Linked DNA regions of Homo sapiens: region 1 is linked to region 2. Evidence: promoter capture Hi-C in 16 types of primary human blood cells and fetal thymus (Javierre and others, 2016). All regions are on one chromosome and are shown on one strand. Each heading gives the region's core, a stretch centred on a gene start or on the middle of the fragment in contact. The rest is flanking DNA. Distances are from core to core; before and after follow the strand shown. Region 1 has its middle 79 kb from the start of CHD6. Region 2 holds the start of PLCG1 (phospholipase C gamma 1).

Region 1 (2,700 bases), core at 105-2,604, 560 kb before region 2:
GACAGAAAGAGAGAGACAAAACCAGAGACAGAGAGACCAAGAGAGAAGCTATGATGTATTTTAACCTGATCTGAGAAGTGACATACCATAATTTCTCCTGTATTCTGTTTTTGGTGGGGTGTTTTTGTTTTTGTTTGTTTGTTCGAGACAGGGTCTTGCTCTGTCACCCAGGCTGGAGTGCAATGGCATGAACACAGCTCACTGCAGCCTCAACCTCCTGGGCTTAAGCAATTATCCCGCCTCAGCCTCCGTAGTATCTGGGACTACAGACTCACACCACCATGCCTGGCTAGTTTTTGTATTTTTTGTAGAGACGAGGTCTCATTTTGTTGTCCAGGCTGGTCTCTAATTCCTGGGCTCAAGCAATCCTCCTGCCTCGGCCTCCCAAAGTGCTGGGATTATAGGCATAAGCCACTATGCCCGGCCCTGCTTCTCCTGCATTCTGCTGGTGACACAGACCATTACTGCTGCTACATGGGAGGGGACCAGATAGGGTTTGAAAACCAGGAGGCAGGATCATTGGTGGCCCTCTTAGAAACTGCTTACCACAGTCTCCAAGAAGAACCCCCTCTCCCCCAAACTCCACCTAAACTCTGGAACAGGGAGGTGTGCAGATTTCACTGTTTCAAACTACGGAGGCCCACAACAAACAGTGAATTTACTCTGTCCTGGAAACTCATGTTTTAAGCCCAGTAGAACTGCTTTTCCTCAATTATACTTGAGCGTCATGCCATAGGCCTGCATAAAAGGACATTATAAGAAACAGCTCCAATTAAGTCACCGCTGTATTGCATCACTGTTCAGTCAGCTGACCCACGGGAAAAATATCTCTTTGGTCTCAGGGTCAGGAAAAGTTGAGCTTCTCCCAAATATTTGTTTTTCTCACATAAAATCTAGAATTTTATTACCACTCACATTTCCCTCTTTACTTTGGCCATTTGGAAGCTCGGAGCCAAATGTGTAAGCCTTTGCTGGTGTTGATCTTTTTGAGCTAATGTCATCCTGGAGTTATTTCTTCCACTTGTTTTCTATTTTCTCCAGCTACCTCAACTTTTTGTCTTATCCTTTTGTATATTTTGTACTTTTGTAATTCCCCTCAAAGCTTTTGTGGATTGAGATGGAGTTTAAATACACAATAAAATTAGTTTTTGCCCAAAAGACTGATGACCTGCATGTGCCATCTAGTGGTGAGAGAGACAACTGCCAGAATAGAAACCTCCCTGATTTTTCAGATGTGTTTTAGATGGGAGAGTGGTGAGTAGTGGGCAAGGGAAGAGGAGGGAGACCGGGCCCCCTCTGTGTGCTTTGTCAGGAAATTGAAACTGCTGAGGATTAAAGAGCCTCTAGGCAGGGCCAAGGAGCAGGTGATTCAATGGCTGGAAATGAAGATGATTTATCAGAATCTGAAGAAACAATCAAAAAATAGTGAAGAATGAGGAAGGCACTGGAAGTGGAAGGGTTAAGAAAAAAAACTGTTAGTAAAAGTAAACAATGAAAATGGACCTAATTGAAGCAAGTAATCACTTGAAAGGTGCTTAATGTAGGTTGATCACAGATGTGACCAGCCATTTTTTAAACATTCACATTAACTGTAGAAAGAAGCTTAGAGTCCAATGTTTTTATTTTACTTGAGAGAAAACTGGGGCACAGAAGCATTGAGCATCTTGTTCAAGGTCATACAGCCTATGAGCCCCAGGTCCAGGGTAACTCCTAGATCAGTCCTCTTTCCCCAGCACCACCCTACTCCTAACTGTATATAGCAGATGCTCATTTGGGCTTTCATTTTGCACACAGGGTTTCACAAGAAAAATGAGGTCATTACATAAAAATGCTGGATCCAGCATATTTTCAATGAATTATTACTAGCTGGTTTTGTAGCTACCCCCCTGACCTACCCCCAAAATGTCAGGGTGGTGGTTCAAAGCACTGGCTTCGTTAATCTTCACCATGTGGCAAGTCATCAGTTCACAATGATAGAGAAGGATTCCAGAAGCCAATGGCAGTAGGTGAGGGAGCCCCAATCTGGGGAAGAGAAAGTAAATTCACTCATCTACCATGTTAACCTAGCATCTGCTCTGGGCCAAGTTCTAGGCAGTTTGCTGGGGTGGCAATATCAACAATGCACTGGCCATGTCTGGAGCTATACGTATCCCATCTCCCTGTACCCTGACCTGTGTTCTTGGACACAACTTCAGCTAAAACTGAGGCATAGCTTGGATCTGGAGGGCCCTTGAAGACCTAGCCCAGGGATCTGTAGTCTCAAGTTGAATGTCTTGGAAACAGCCTGAAGTCAGGAACCAATGAGGGGGCTGGAGATACTGTCTAAAAAGGAACTTGAGACATTCCCATACTGGAAAGCACAAATATGGAACATTTTACTCATCTGAAAGAGTTCTATTAAACAGCACTGGCCAAGAGTGCCCTTTCCTGGATTTTCTGCTCCTCTGAGTCCTACCAGTTCTCCTAAGCCCTTCAGCAGCTGATATCAGCAGAGACTGATATGAGTCACTGATTCCTGGAAAAGACAGAACTCTGGTACAATGGCTGTTCCAAGTTGATGTCCTCAGAGGTACAAATGACACACCAGAGACAGAAGTTGTTTCTTAAACTTTCCGGGCTTCTGTGCTAGTAACGGGTGCCAGATGGGGCAAAAAGAACAGAAGGAATATTGAGGGGCTCAACCTTTGAGATCAGAAAGAC
Region 2 (2,700 bases), core at 1-2,500:
CCCACTAGAGACCAGCGCAAAAGCAGCCAAGCTCAGGCCTGGGAAGGCGAAAAGGCAGGAAACTAAGAGAAGCCGCTCCCGCTCCCTGAAGCCACCGGACAGAGGACAAAGGGCTAGACTCACAAACTAGCTGCACTCCTGAGAAGAATACCTGACTCCAAGGCGCTGGGGCAGGCCTTTATGGGGCCCATCTCCTGGGAACGTGCTTCCCAGGGCAAGGGGAGTCCCTGCCCTGGCATTGAGTGTCTGCCCACCCACATAGGCCTCCAAAACCCAGCTTTGGGACAAAAGTAGCAGAAAAAAAAAAAAAAAAATTCCAGCCACTGGCTTCTCTCAGGCTTCTCCAAACCAAACAAGACCACCTTCCTCCCTCTCCCCCAGAGGGAGATGAGTAGGCCCAGCTCTGCTCCAAGACCAGCCCTACCCAACATCTGCCTAAGTTCTACTTAGGGAACCCAAAGATTCCTTTGCAAATAAGAGCCCAGCCTGGGGGCCCGGAGAGTTTCACAGACTGCTCTTTCTGGATAAAGAGTGGGCGGGGACCGTCTGGTCAGGCCCCAGGTTCCCGTGCAGGGTGGGGGCCACTGCCTTAGCTCCCCTCGCCGACGCCGCCACCACTCCCAGGGTCTGGGGGGCCCGATGCCTGCACCGCAGGTCTCCAGCCCGCGAGGATTTTTAGGCCTCAGGGCAAAGCGCCTGGAACACTCCCCCCAGCTGGGGGAGGGGGGGTGTCCTGTCAGGTGACCGAGGACCCGGATGCCCCCCGCCCCCAGTGACCACCCGAGACGAAGCGGGGGCGGGGCCCGGAGGGAGTCTGGGAGGGCCCGAAAGTTTGCCCAAGTCGCTGGGGCGGCCGGCCGGGGTGCAAGCAGTCGGGCCGGGCTCCCACGACCCCCGCGCGGGGCGGGCCCAGGCAGGAAGTGGGCGCACTTACTGGCCCCCTCGATCTTGTCGGCGCCCCGGCTCCACGTGATCTGGCGCGTCTCCAGCTTGACCTGGAAGGTCTTCCGCTCGGGTCGCTGCGACTTCTTGGAGTAGAACAAAGTCATGACGGTGCCCACCTCGAGGCTGCGGCAGAGGTGCAGCACCTCGGCGTCCGAGGGCGCGCCGGGCCCGCAGCCGTTGGCGCAAGGGGACGCGGCGCCCGCCATGGCTCCGACGCTGGGGGCGGCGGCGGCACAGGCCAGGACCGCCCGGGAGCAAGCGCAACGGCGGCGGCTGAGGTTGGGGCTGAGGCTGAGGCGGCAGACGAGCGGGACCCGGCGGCGGCTCCTGCAGGCGGACACGGGGCGGGGCCTCAGCGCGGCGGGGCGGGGCTGCCCTGAGGCCCCACCCCGCTTCGGCGCCGGGAACAAAGGCGCCCGCGCACCCGTGGGGAGGACCCCCGCCCGTCGGCCCGCCGCGCCTGCGCCCCGCGACCCCCAGACAGGCCGCAGGCGGGGACGGAGGCGCGATGGCGGCGGGAGCGCGCGCCGTTCCCGGTCGACCCACCCAGCCCTCAGTCCCGCAGAGCTTTCTCACGCGGCCCCGGACACAGCCCGGCGGCCACGAGCGGCCCTGTCACGCACGGCAGCCCCGCCCACAGGCCGCAGGCCCGGCGGCCGGCGCGTCAGTCAGGCGTACTCGCACGGGCGGCCGCTACCCCGCGGTCCCGCACAGACGCAGCCCCCGCGTCCCGAACACCGCCCATGCAGCGACCGGGACGGGACGTGAGGGGATGGCGCGTCCTCCGGGAATGCCCGGCCAAACTCAGTTACCTGGGCGGGCTTCCCGGACAAGGGAGCCAGGACGGGCCGCCTCACACCGGCGGCGGCGGGTCCTCCGCGCGCCCTCTCCCGGGAGGGGCGGGGGCGGGGCTGCCTGCGGATTGGTCGCGGGCACTGATGGACAGCCGACATGTCCCGCCCCCCCGGCAGCGCGGGGCTGGTCCGCAGGCAGTTCTGGCGACGGCCAGACCCACGTCTGTCTGTTCCGCCCCTGCTGCCAGGGTGGCTTTCAGTGGTCCTCTCTTTCGGAGAGTTCCCCCCAAGCGTGAGCACCCCTTACAGGGGCGTTAGGTCCGCGGCCGCGCTGTCCAGTGGTCTGACCTGCAGCTCCCAGGGCCTTTGTGTCTGTCCCTCGCATGGGCCTCTGCACGCTCCGTCCCCACGCGACAGGACTCGAGTCCGATTCGGGGCTCCGACTCAGACCCTACCCCGCAGCGCCCTCCTGCAAATGCTCTCCTGAACTTTGGTTTTCCCCGCCTTGCTTTCTTCCTCCTCCTGTAGCCGCTGCCTCTCGATCTCAGAAGCTTCTCTTCCTCTGCACTCAGTGCTAGGCCAGATCCCAAGGCGACCTGACCTTTCCCCTGGCTTTGCCCAACAACACAGGCACCGGTGACTCCAAACCTGCATCTCCCCTACGTTCCAGGCCCCAGCATCCCACTGCATGTTCCACATCCCCCCCCCTTAGACAGCTCGCCTTCCCTCCCCAAACGATTCCTTCCACAGTCTTCACTTTCTCAGAACGCGGCGCTAAACTTCTCTAAGTTGGAAGGTCAAAAACCTTGCAGCTAACTTTGATTCCTCCCTTTGCCTCACCTCCAATCCATCAAGACCTTGTCACTCAGCCCACAAGCTGAAGGCCCCATCTCCTGTCACCCAGACTACTCACCTTGTTTGGTTTTGCCTGGATCTATCAGTTTGGTTTTGCCTGGATTTA

Evidence for each region. Contacts are between HindIII fragments. The CHiCAGO score rates a contact against its expected background, and 5 or more counts as called.
Region 1: a contact is called between a fragment that was not itself captured here and the fragment with the promoter of PLCG1 in region 2, in 4 of 17 cell types (naive CD8 T cells, activated CD4 T cells, total B cells and 1 more). The highest score is 9.7, in naive CD8 T cells.

The regions. Positions count from the first base shown.
Region 1 is chr20:41,696,459-41,699,158 of GRCh38, reverse strand. No RefSeq gene overlaps it. Among named protein-coding and RNA genes, the nearest start is that of CHD6, 79 kb to the right of the region's middle. The HindIII fragment of the contact is 500 bases long and covers 1,105-1,604 here.
Region 2 is chr20:41,136,093-41,138,792 of GRCh38, reverse strand. PLCG1 (phospholipase C gamma 1) reads right to left here and starts at 1,250. Exons shown (of 32, transcript NM_002660.3): 1 at 935-1,250. The coding sequence starts at 1,151. It overlaps LOC124904903 (translation initiation factor IF-2-like), which reads left to right and starts at 1,280. Exons shown (of 2, transcript XM_047440629.1): 1 at 1,280-2,700. The coding sequence starts at 1,454. The coding sequence ends at 2,035. It overlaps PLCG1-AS1 (PLCG1 antisense RNA 1), which reads left to right and starts at 793. Exons shown (of 7, transcript NR_109889.1): 1 at 793-1,079. RefSeq lists enhancers at 133-212, 361-460, 382-1,166, 1,951-2,700 and silencers at 611-870, 991-1,980. The HindIII fragment of the contact is 8,103 bases long and covers 1-2,292 here.